3 separate regions of the Homo sapiens genome follow, and regions 1 and 2 are each linked to region 3. Evidence: promoter capture Hi-C in 16 types of primary human blood cells and fetal thymus (Javierre and others, 2016). All regions are on one chromosome and are shown on one strand. Each heading gives the region's core, a stretch centred on a gene start or on the middle of the fragment in contact. The rest is flanking DNA. Distances are from core to core; before and after follow the strand shown. Region 1 overlaps PARD6B (par-6 family cell polarity regulator beta). Region 2 holds the start of PARD6B (par-6 family cell polarity regulator beta). Region 3 holds the start of CEBPB (CCAAT enhancer binding protein beta).

The links. The method cuts DNA at HindIII sites, captures the fragments that hold promoters and counts their contacts. A CHiCAGO score of 5 or more calls a contact.
Region 1: a fragment that was not itself captured here is called in contact with the fragment with the promoter of CEBPB in region 3 in 1 of 17 cell types (total B cells); the score reaches 5.7 in total B cells.
Region 2: the fragment with the promoter of PARD6B here is called in contact with the fragment with the promoter of CEBPB in region 3 in 11 of 17 cell types (total B cells, non-activated CD4 T cells, activated CD4 T cells and 8 more); the score reaches 21.9 in total B cells.

The regions. Positions count from the first base shown.
Region 1 is chr20:50,749,134-50,753,170 of GRCh38, forward strand. PARD6B (par-6 family cell polarity regulator beta) reads left to right here. Exons shown (of 3, transcript NM_032521.3): 3 at 526-4,037. The coding sequence ends at 1,355. Among named protein-coding and RNA genes, the nearest start is that of PARD6B, 20 kb to the left of the region's middle. The HindIII fragment of the contact is 1,111 bases long and covers 1,477-2,587 here.
Region 2 is chr20:50,729,735-50,733,514 of GRCh38, forward strand. It overlaps PARD6B (par-6 family cell polarity regulator beta), which reads left to right and starts at 1,846. Exons shown (of 3, transcript NM_032521.3): 1 at 1,846-2,118. The coding sequence starts at 2,053. RefSeq lists an enhancer at 949-998 and silencers at 1,189-1,398, 1,499-2,288. The HindIII fragment of the contact is 2,238 bases long and covers 1,031-3,268 here.
Region 3 is chr20:50,188,808-50,192,727 of GRCh38, forward strand. CEBPB (CCAAT enhancer binding protein beta) reads left to right here and starts at 2,023. Exons shown (of 1, transcript NM_005194.4): 1 at 2,023-3,861. The coding sequence starts at 2,227. The coding sequence ends at 3,264. CEBPB-AS1 (CEBPB antisense RNA 1) reads right to left here and starts at 3,262. Exons shown (of 7, transcript NR_125739.1): 1 at 2,857-3,262; 2 at 2,461-2,615; 3 at 1,191-1,478; 4 at 649-754. RefSeq lists silencers at 1,556-1,965, 1,925-2,219, 2,046-2,255, 2,396-2,835, 3,256-3,365. The HindIII fragment of the contact is 16,423 bases long and covers 1-3,920 here.

The DNA.
Region 1 (4,037 bases), core at 782-3,281, 560 kb after region 3:
GAAATCGAGACCATCCTGGCTAACACGGTGAAACCCCATCTGTACTAAAAATACAAAAAGTTAGCCAGGCCTGGTGGCACACACCTGTAGTCCCAGCTACTCGGGAGGGTGAGGCAGGAGAATTGCTTGAACCCGGGAGGCGGAGGTTGCAGTGAGCCGAGGTCACGCCACTGCACTCCAGCCTGGTCGACAGAGCGAGACTCCATCTCAAAAAAAAAAAAAATATGTAAGATCTATCATAGTTTCATTTGCCATATTTAATGTTTAAAAGTGAATGAGCTCTATCAAATTTAACTTCAACATTGGTTTATTTTGTGATGTGTATTTGAGATGGCCACCTAGTGGTTTTTTCTGGTATGGCATTTTACTACTGTACTAGATTATGATCTGATTAGAATAAGCTTATTAGCTAGTTTGTTTATATACCAAATATATTTTGAGTTATCCTTTCTGTACAGATTCAGCTGCAAGTGAATAGATATTTTTACAGCATTTCTATAATTATTTTGTTTTATTTTTAAACAGAAGAAGCAGACTACAGTGCCTTTGGTACAGACACGCTAATAAAGAAGAAGAATGTTTTAACCAACGTATTGCGTCCTGACAACCATAGAAAAAAGCCACATATAGTCATTAGTATGCCCCAAGACTTTAGACCTGTGTCTTCTATTATAGACGTGGATATTCTCCCAGAAACGCATCGTAGGGTACGTCTTTACAAATACGGCACGGAGAAACCCCTAGGATTCTACATCCGGGATGGCTCCAGTGTCAGGGTAACACCACATGGCTTAGAAAAGGTTCCAGGGATCTTTATATCCAGGCTTGTCCCAGGAGGTCTGGCTCAAAGTACAGGACTATTAGCTGTTAATGATGAAGTTTTAGAAGTTAATGGCATAGAAGTTTCAGGGAAGAGCCTTGATCAAGTAACAGACATGATGATTGCAAATAGCCGTAACCTCATCATAACAGTGAGACCGGCAAACCAGAGGAATAATGTTGTGAGGAACAGTCGGACTTCTGGCAGTTCCGGTCAGTCTACTGATAACAGCCTTCTTGGCTACCCACAGCAGATTGAACCAAGCTTTGAGCCAGAGGATGAAGACAGCGAAGAAGATGACATTATCATTGAAGACAATGGAGTGCCACAGCAGATTCCAAAAGCTGTTCCTAATACTGAGAGCCTGGAGTCATTAACACAGATAGAGCTAAGCTTTGAGTCTGGACAGAATGGCTTTATTCCCTCTAATGAAGTGAGCTTAGCAGCCATAGCAAGCAGCTCAAACACGGAATTTGAAACACATGCTCCAGATCAAAAACTCTTAGAAGAAGATGGAACAATCATAACATTATGAAACCGTGGTTTGAATGTTTTCAGAGTGAGGATGCCATGAGGACTTGTACATTTGGCTAGTTTAAAAGCATATATACCTCTGACCAGTGACGTGGAATAGGCATGAGACGAGTAACGTTGCAAGCTTACAATATTATTAAAGTAGTAGTTTGATAATTGTTAATATAAACTTTGGTGGATCAGAGGTGAATTTAAGTCCAAAACAAAGGGGCCTTTGCTGATGAAGTTACGTGCTTTTGCTGTTTTGTCTGTGGAGAATCAGATGTTAAAGCACATTCTTGGAACTATGTGAGAAGACTAGATCATTTCTGTTGGAAGTGGTTGCATATTTAACCTGCTGTGCAGAGCCCAGTTAATTTTTCCTTTAACTGTATTTTTAAAATTCTAATGTGAAGTCTGATTCTCTCTTGTGGTACATTGGGGACCTCAGCTCTTAAAGGTCTCATGTTCCCAATATTTTATTTTGATTTTTTTTTTTTTTTTTTTTTTTTTTTTTTTTAGTGACTGGGTCTCACTCTGTTGCCCACACTGGAATGCAGTGGCATGATCACAGCTCTCTGCAGCCTCAATCCCCTGGGCTCAAGCAGTCCTCCCACCTCAGCCTCCTGAGTAGCTGGGACCATAGGCACATACCACCACATCTGTCTACTTTTTGTATTTTTTGTAGAGACAGGGTTTCGCCATGTTGCCCAAGTTGGTCTTGAACTCCTGGGCTTAAGCAGTCCTGCCTCGGCTTCCCAAAATGCTAGGATTAGAGCCACCATGCCCAGCCTATTTTGATTTTTGTTTTTTTATGTTCCTTTCTAATAAATTGTAACAAATGATGTTCTCAAGTACATTTCCAGTTTCTTTTCTTTTCTTTCTTTTTTTTTTTTTTTTTTTTTTTGAGATGGAGTCTCGCTCTATCGCCCAGGCTGGAGTGCAGTGGCGCGATCTTGGCTCACTGCAAGCTCTACCTCCTGGGTTCACACCATTCTCCTGCCTCAGCCTCCCAAGTAGCTGGGACTACAGGCGCCTGCCACCATGCCTGGCTAATTTTTAGTAGAGACGGGGTTTCGCAGTGTTAGCCAGGAAGGTCTCAATCTCCTGACCTCCTGATCCGCCCGCCTCGGCCTCCCAAAGTGCTGGGATTACAGGCGTGAGCCACCGCGCCCAGTTGTGCATTTCTGGTTTCTAAGAATCAAACCACTTGGCTGTTTTTAGGAGTTACTTCCCATGTTATAAAGCTGAGGAAGCTTTTTTTTTTTTTTTTTGAGACAGAGTCTCTGTCACCCAGGCTGGAGTGCAGTGGTGCAATCTCAGCTCCCGGGTTCAAGCAATTCTCCTGCCTCAGCCTTCTGAGTAGCTAAGATTACAGGTGTGCGCCAACACGTCTGGCTTATTTTTTTGTATTTTTAGTAGAGATGGAGTTTCACCATGTTGGTCAGGTGGGTCTCAAACTCCTGACCTCAAGTGATCCGCCCATCTCCTCCCAAAGTGCTGGATTGCAGGCATGAGCGCCTAGCCAGGAAGCTATCTTTTCTTGAGTTATGAAACTTTGCAACAGTTGTTCAAATTGGTGTTTGTCCTTCCTATAGCTTTCATATTTTCAAATTAATTCTGTATGGCTATATAATTTATGTTTTAAAAGGCAATTCTCTTGACTTTGGAAATATGGAAGTCTCTCCTTTAACCTATTCTTGTTCCCATTCCCAGTCTCATTTGAAATCATTCCTTTTATTGTTAGTGTGTGTATTTTTGTTGGTGTGCTTTTAATGCATCCAAGTATGCATCATTTTGGATAAAAAATACATCCAAATTAAGATGTTTTAACACATAGGACAAACTTGTGCACTTTTTATGCCAAAAAAAAAAAAAATTGGGTTTTCCTTCATGGGATTTCTAGAAACACTGCCTACACTTTATGAAAACTACATAGTATTCACCTGTGACAGGTAGAGTTTATCACTATTAATTTTATGAGGCTATTTATTACTTTCCAATGCATCCACTTAGAACAAGCTAAGAGTAAGGCTGCTAACTTTAATTCCTTGCCTGATTTTATTGTACAGTGTGCACAAGCACAATGGTATGCTTGTATATAGAAACTAAAAATACTATGAAGTACATAAGTTCCCTATGGCTTATGGAGAGTTATTTATTAATTAACTTTATGGTAGGGCTAGTATGAATACCTTTTTAACAATTGTGTGCTATTACAACAATGAAGATTCAAATGACTCCGCTTTGAAGGATGTTTTCTCTATATGGTAAAATATATATGAAGAAGTCTTGATTACGTGAAGATCACTTGACTCAGAATACTTCAATGTATTTTGTTCACATTACCACTAAGCATATTATCAGTAAACTATTAACTGACTGCACATTATGTAATACGTTGTACTTTTTGTTGAATTCACCGAAGTTCTTCCATTTATATGCTATTTTTAATGGCATTCCGGCTTTAACATTCTGTGAGTCTTACAAATTTGACTCTTGAATGGCAAAATAATGTTAGTATGTAGAAGGTTAACTTTCATTTATAATATAAGTGGTGCAGGGGTTCAACATTTTAAGTAAAAATATTTTTACACACTACCTCTCTCTTTTTTTTTTTAAAGTTTTAACATCAGAACTTTTGGGGGAAAAACTACTTCAGGGCTTGACTTTTTGTACAAATTTTAACTGTAAAATACAGATT
Region 2 (3,780 bases), core at 596-3,095, 540 kb after region 3:
GGCCCTGACATGCACTTTATTTCCGGCTGAACTTGAGTCACCTCCTATGTGCTTTCAAACAGGGGGTGGAGGCAGCTTGCTTATTTATTATACAGCTTGGATTGGTGTCCTTTCCACCTGTGCTGCCACAGGTGGCCAGAAAAACCTTAAATCCTCCCACAAAACGTCTGGTTACCTGAATCCTCCAGAGGGAAAAAAATGAGCTTCTCGCCTTTGAACCCAAGTGGGGCAAAGAGCCTGCAGAAGGGACACCCTCAGTGGCAGCACCCAGCAAAGACCCATCTGAGTACCCGCTGGGAGTCGGGTTCTGTGCCACTCAATGCCAGCAAAGCACAAGCCGTCCCTGCGCCTTCGGGAGCTTTCATTCTAGGCTGGTGGCAGATTACTCACAAAACTCAGATGCACACAAAAATGGGAAACCTGTAACTTGTAACAAGTGCTGGGCAACAGGGGTACAAGTGTTAGGAGGCCTCCGAGGTGGGCAGGGAGATGAGGGGAGGAAGGTACCCTAACCACTCTTCTTGCCAAATCTCAGGTTGGACCTTCCCCTCCACCTCCATTCCCCTGCCCCCTTCCTGGCTTGCAGGTTTCAACAGCTCTTGGATTCCCGGGTCCCACAGGGAGACCTTGGGACCTGGGAATCTCCTCCAGCCAAAAGCTTCAGTCTTCTCCTCTCCTCCCCATGACCCACAGGGTCTGTGTGAAGAGAGGCCGGGCTCTGGGACGTTCAGAGAGGAGGATTCAGCGTTTTGTTGCTCTGGGACACAGCTTGGTCACTCCGGGAAACGAACACAACCTAGAGGCTGTCATTTGTAGAAACAGCGAATGGCCAAGGAATGGCGGGAGGAGGGAAAAGGAAGACTTTTAAAGAAAAAAAAAAAAAGCCCTGAAAGACTGGACTAGAAATCCTCAGGGAGGCTGGGCCTGCAAGGAGCCTTCCCGCGCCTCAGCCCACTTTCCTTCCCTCTCGACCTGACGGACTTAAGGCGTGCAGAGTCTCTTCGGACAAAATGAAGCCAAGAGAGCCCTAAGCTTCTCCCCCAGCAACCGCTGCAGAGGCGGGAAAACTTGAATTTTGCAACCAAGAGTTGCAGCGGGACGCCTAAGCAACGATAAGGGGCGGTGGAGGGGCGTCGTTGGGGGCTGCAGCATCCCAAAGTGGAAGCGGGAAGGGGGCCCGGCTGGAACCGAATAGCCCCGCAGCGCCTCGGCAACCGGACGGGCGGCGCATCCAATCCCCTGGACCGTGCGTGTGACTGGCGCGCGCTAAGCGGCGCGAGCCCCGGCGGAGCCGGGCAACCAGGCGCGCGCTCGCGCGTGCGCAAAAGGCCCACCCAGCCGAGCCCTTCTTCAGGTGCGCTCGCGCTTCCGGCCGGCCTCCCCGCGTGCCTTCCCGGGGCGGAAACTCCAGCACCCGCGCATGCGCCTTCTGGCTCTCCGGCCTGAAGCGGGGCGGAGGGCCATGGCTTCAGGTGATCCCGCCCCTCCCTCGTAGCGCAGGACCAATCGTGCGGTGGTAGGCGGGGTTTTGAGGAGGCAGCCCGCCCACGCACCGCGCGAGGCGTGTATCGATTGGTTGGCGCCGCGGGCGCAGGTGCGCGCTTTCTATTGGGTGTGGGCGGAACGCGAGGGATTGCGGCATCTTCGGGGGCTGCAGGTGAGCGCGCGCACGCGCCGCGGCTGTGGTCCGCTCGGGTGCGCGCGCGCGGGCTCGCGGGGGAGGCGGCAGAGGGAGAGGTTGCGGCGCTTGTGGCCTCCGCTCCGCCCCCTCCTCTCCTCCAGCGCTGTCGCCGTCGCCGCCGGGGCCCGGAGGGAGGGAGCTGCTTCCCCGCCTGCCGCGCCACCAGTCCGACCCTCGGTCCCGCCGTGTGAGCAGCTGGTGGAGTGGAGCTCAGCGCGGACGCCGGAGCTGCGGCCGCCCCCTCTGCAGGTGCCTGTGAGGAGGCGCCCGGGCCGCAACCGCTTTCCGAGATCCCCAGTCGCGCACTCGCTCCCCGCGCTCCTGAGGGGCCGCCCGGCCGGAGGAGGCCGTCGCGGGGCTCGGCGTTCAGCATGAACCGCAGCCACCGGCACGGGGCGGGCAGCGGCTGCCTGGGCACTATGGAGGTGAAGAGCAAGGTGCGCGGGGCCCGGGCTGGGCGGAGCGGCGGGCCTGGGGGGCCGGGGCCTGGGAGAGGCCGGGCCAGGCTCGGAGCGCCGGGGGAGGCGACGGGCTGAGCTGCCCCGGGGTCTGGACGGTGCGGTCGGGAGACTGTGGGTAATAAACTTGCCGAGGAGGGGGTGGCGGGGGTCAGGGGGCGCTAGTGTCCGCCCCTGGCCCGGGCAGGAAGAAGACCTAGTCCAGCATTTAATCTCATTCCGTAAATCTCATTCCCGTGTTCACGGACGGGAGTAGGGGCCAAGGTATATCCAAGGATGGCGCACACTGAGTGAAATGCGAGGCTGCTCAAAAGGTGTAGGAGAATCCTGCCTGCTGGGCTGTGAGTAAAGGGCCCTGGACCACCCCGTTGTTCCCACTTTCTGTGGTTAAGGGGCGCATCGAGTGGCGAAGGAGAGAGCCCAGTGAACTAAACAGCCCTTTAAAAGTTCGCTTTGCTTCCTGCTGGCGCTCTTTCTAGCACTAACTTTGGTATGCATTTAATCTGTAAAATTAGTACTATCACCTTACGTTGGAGTAGCACTTTACAGTTTGACTCTAGATGCTCTTTTCATTCCATCCTGCTACCTACTCACATCAAGTGCTTTTCCCCTTGACCAACGGTATGCCAATCTGCTGATAATTACTTCGGTATTCACTGAATTTCTAAATCTCAAGGCTCAGTGAGCAGGGTAGTCTGTAGGGAGGGATTAGTTAGGGAATGCCTTCCAAAGGGGGTTTTGAGCTGGAATTTGAAGGTGATCGGCAGCCAAGGGAACACTTTCAGCAAGCGTTTCTTGAGTTGAAGAGTTAAAAGGAGCTTAGATAATCTAGCCCAATTCTCTGAGAAGACTGAGGCTTAGAAAGGTTATGACTTCCTCAAGCTGTTTTTTTGCAAAGCCTTCATGCCTTTTTAATAACTTCTAGACATTGCAGAATACAAAACAGGACACTGGCTGGGCCCTGAGAACATTTAAAATAGAATTGAGAAGGCCAAAACACAGAAAAGGAGAAAATTGAAAGTATATCAATTTCAAAAAAAAAAAGTAATGGAGCATCATAGATGGTAAGACTACTAAGGAGTATGTAAAATCAAGGAGTGATTTGAGTGAGGTACAGTGGAGTAAGGAAAGCTTCCTAGAGCCTCTAGGTAGAATAGTTTTATTGTCTAGGGTTGATAAGCAAAGTTCTGTAAGTTTCTGTAACTGAGAATCACATCGAGAAAATCGACATTCGTTTGTAACATCATTAAAAAATGTGATTTGAGTCTGGGCGCGGTGGCTCACGCCTGTAACCCCAGCACTTTGGGAGGCCGAGGCGGGTGGATCACCTGAGGTCAGGAGTGCCAGACCAGCCTGGCCAACATGATGAAACCCCATCTCTACTAAAAATACAAAAAATTTTTAGCCGGCCGTGGTGGCACATGCCTGTAATCCCAGCTACTTGAGAGGCTGAGGCAGGAGAATCGCTTGAATCCGGGAGGTGGAGGTTGCAGTGAGCCAAGTTTGCACCATTGCACTCCAGCCTGGGCAACAAGAGCAAAACTCCATCTCAAAAAACAAAACAAAACAAAAACAAAAACGGCTTGGCACTTACATGAGGATTGGCACTAGTTTCAGAATTAGTAAGAAAAGACGTGTAGT
Region 3 (3,920 bases), core at 773-3,272:
CTTGGTGCACAGGGAACAGCAAATGCATTCCTTCACTGGTAAATGTTGAGCGTGCTGTGCTCAGGAGTCCCTCGTGGGCCAGCCCTCCCCAAGTGGCAGCCTGCAGGGAGACTGAGGTAGACAGCTAGGATAATGGTGGCTGGCGATAGGGAAGGAAATTCACTAGCAGGTGGGACAGGGAGGGCCTCTCAGAAGCCGTGGCCTCTAGCTCAGCCCTGAGTGTCCCATTTTGCAGTGAGGAAGGGCTGGCCGGGTGGCCCTAGGGAAGCTGCCGCACCCCTCTGGGCCTTGATCCCTCCCCAACCCAGAGGCTGCTGGGAAGACCCAGAAAGCCAGCAGGCTGGGCCAGTGTTTTATCCCCTCCCTCCCTGCCTCCTACCCACCAAGGGTGCCCAGAGATGTCATTTCTCCAGCTCTTGGGGGCGGAGGTCACCCCAGCTCAGCAGATAACACCAAAGGTTGAGCAATGCCCGCCTGCCCGCTGGGGCCAGGGCTGGGGTCAGTGGGCTGGGGATCAGCCCCGGGCAGGCTGGGAGCTCCTGCCTAGGTGGCCTGGGCTAGGAGTGGCAGAGAGGTGGGCCCAGGGAGCTGCCCCAATGGCCTAGGAATGGGTCCGGGAGGGCAAAGGGCCCTCTAACCTGAGCCTACCCAGCAGAGGCGGGCAAGTGGTCAGAAGGCCTTGGGCCTGTGTTCAAGTCCAGGCGGGCCGTTGTCGCTTTCCCGTCTGTGAAATGGCAGCAGCAAAAGCATCTTCCTGGTGGGGTGAAAAAAGTTGAACCTCGGGGTGCAGGCCCACCGTAAGCACAGGGCAGGGACTTGGTAAAAACTTATCTTTCTCTTTCCTTCTCTTTCCTGCATACCACCCCCTCCCGTGAGGCCTCGCTTAAGTCCCTCCCTAGCAACTTCAGAAACAGAAGTTTTTGGCCTCTGGGACTGGCAATAGGTCTTAGGGCTCAGATGAGGGCATTTCATTTGGGATGAATGGGGGACATGCGGCCATGTGACCTTGGTATGCCACGCCATGCTCTCTCTGGGCCTCCACTGGCACAATCCGTGGGGGTCCCGTTCTCTCTGATGTGCAGCCCACAACGTAAGCCTTAGGTTTGGGAGTCTGGTGGGAACAATGCCACCACCACTGACAGTAGCGACACCCTTCATGGATTGCAGCTGGGAGAAGTGAAGTGACTCACCCAAGGTCACACAGTGTGGCAGGGCCGAGCACCCCCCGCCCCTGCCCCATCCCAGGGCCCAGGTCGGGTGGCGCAGCGCGGGGCAAGAGAAGACCCGGGCGTGTCCAAGCCTCGAGCAGGCGGCAGGTGTGGTGGGCGGGGCTAGGGGCGGGGCTCCGTGGACCAGGGTCCAGCCCCAAGCGGGGCGCGATCCTGCCCGGTCGCGCCGACCCCCGGGGTCCTCATATTGTCTGTGGCTTAAGAGGGGAGTCGTCACAGGCGTCAAGTCTTCTTTCTAAAGCCGGGGACCTGGGGAGGAGGTGGGAGTTTACGGGAGGAAGGGCCACGGAGATGGGTCGCTTCTCCTGGAGCTAGAGCTGCGGGCTGGGGTCTCCAGGGTTCGGCCCGGGGAGCCGACCCTGGTCGGCCGTCGGGGCTCTGCTCGGCCCTCCTGAAACCTCCGCCTCCTCCAGCAGGGGGCGGGCCGGGGCCGCGTCTCGGGGGGAAGGCGATCAGGTCGCCCCCTCCTCCGATTCCCCCGCCTTCCAGGACAGCCTCCAGCCCAGAGGGGCGGTCCGGGGGCGGGGTCGCACCGCCCCCTCTCGCTCCCAATCCCGGGGCGGCCGGGCGGGGGTGGGCAGGGGGCGTGAGGCCGCCCCTGCGTCCCGGGGGCCCCCCGAAAACGCGCTCCGGGTGCCCGGTCCCTCCGCTGCGCCCTGCCGCCGTCCTCCCGGGGGTCTCGGGCGGCCGCGGCCGTGTCCTTCGCGTCCCGGCGGCGCGGCGGGAGGGGCCGGCGTGACGCAGCGGTTGCTACGGGCCGCCCTTATAAATAACCGGGCTCAGGAGAAACTTTAGCGAGTCAGAGCCGCGCACGGGACTGGGAAGGGGACCCACCCGAGGGTCCAGCCACCAGCCCCCTCACTAATAGCGGCCACCCCGGCAGCGGCGGCAGCAGCAGCAGCGACGCAGCGGCGACAGCTCAGAGCAGGGAGGCCGCGCCACCTGCGGGCCGGCCGGAGCGGGCAGCCCCAGGCCCCCTCCCCGGGCACCCGCGTTCATGCAACGCCTGGTGGCCTGGGACCCAGCATGTCTCCCCCTGCCGCCGCCGCCGCCTGCCTTTAAATCCATGGAAGTGGCCAACTTCTACTACGAGGCGGACTGCTTGGCTGCTGCGTACGGCGGCAAGGCGGCCCCCGCGGCGCCCCCCGCGGCCAGACCCGGGCCGCGCCCCCCCGCCGGCGAGCTGGGCAGCATCGGCGACCACGAGCGCGCCATCGACTTCAGCCCGTACCTGGAGCCGCTGGGCGCGCCGCAGGCCCCGGCGCCCGCCACGGCCACGGACACCTTCGAGGCGGCTCCGCCCGCGCCCGCCCCCGCGCCCGCCTCCTCCGGGCAGCACCACGACTTCCTCTCCGACCTCTTCTCCGACGACTACGGGGGCAAGAACTGCAAGAAGCCGGCCGAGTACGGCTACGTGAGCCTGGGGCGCCTGGGGGCCGCCAAGGGCGCGCTGCACCCCGGCTGCTTCGCGCCCCTGCACCCACCGCCCCCGCCGCCGCCGCCGCCCGCCGAGCTCAAGGCGGAGCCGGGCTTCGAGCCCGCGGACTGCAAGCGGAAGGAGGAGGCCGGGGCGCCGGGCGGCGGCGCAGGCATGGCGGCGGGCTTCCCGTACGCGCTGCGCGCTTACCTCGGCTACCAGGCGGTGCCGAGCGGCAGCAGCGGGAGCCTCTCCACGTCCTCCTCGTCCAGCCCGCCCGGCACGCCGAGCCCCGCTGACGCCAAGGCGCCCCCGACCGCCTGCTACGCGGGGGCCGCGCCGGCGCCCTCGCAGGTCAAGAGCAAGGCCAAGAAGACCGTGGACAAGCACAGCGACGAGTACAAGATCCGGCGCGAGCGCAACAACATCGCCGTGCGCAAGAGCCGCGACAAGGCCAAGATGCGCAACCTGGAGACGCAGCACAAGGTCCTGGAGCTCACGGCCGAGAACGAGCGGCTGCAGAAGAAGGTGGAGCAGCTGTCGCGCGAGCTCAGCACCCTGCGGAACTTGTTCAAGCAGCTGCCCGAGCCCCTGCTCGCCTCCTCCGGCCACTGCTAGCGCGGCCCCCGCGCGCGTCCCCCTGCCGGCCGGGGCTGAGACTCCGGGGAGCGCCCGCGCCCGCGCCCTCGCCCCCGCCCCCGGCGGCGCCGGCAAAACTTTGGCACTGGGGCACTTGGCAGCGCGGGGAGCCCGTCGGTAATTTTAATATTTTATTATATATATATATCTATATTTTTGTCCAAACCAACCGCACATGCAGATGGGGCTCCCGCCCGTGGTGTTATTTAAAGAAGAAACGTCTATGTGTACAGATGAATGATAAACTCTCTGCTTCTCCCTCTGCCCCTCTCCAGGCGCCGGCGGGCGGGCCGGTTTCGAAGTTGATGCAATCGGTTTAAACATGGCTGAACGCGTGTGTACACGGGACTGACGCAACCCACGTGTAACTGTCAGCCGGGCCCTGAGTAATCGCTTAAAGATGTTCCTACGGGCTTGTTGCTGTTGATGTTTTGTTTTGTTTTGTTTTTTGGTCTTTTTTTGTATTATAAAAAATAATCTATTTCTATGAGAAAAGAGGCGTCTGTATATTTTGGGAATCTTTTCCGTTTCAAGCATTAAGAACACTTTTAATAAACTTTTTTTTGAGAATGGTTACAAAGCCTTTTGGGGGCAGTAATTGGCTTTTGTTTTTTATTTTTTTACTTTATTTTGGA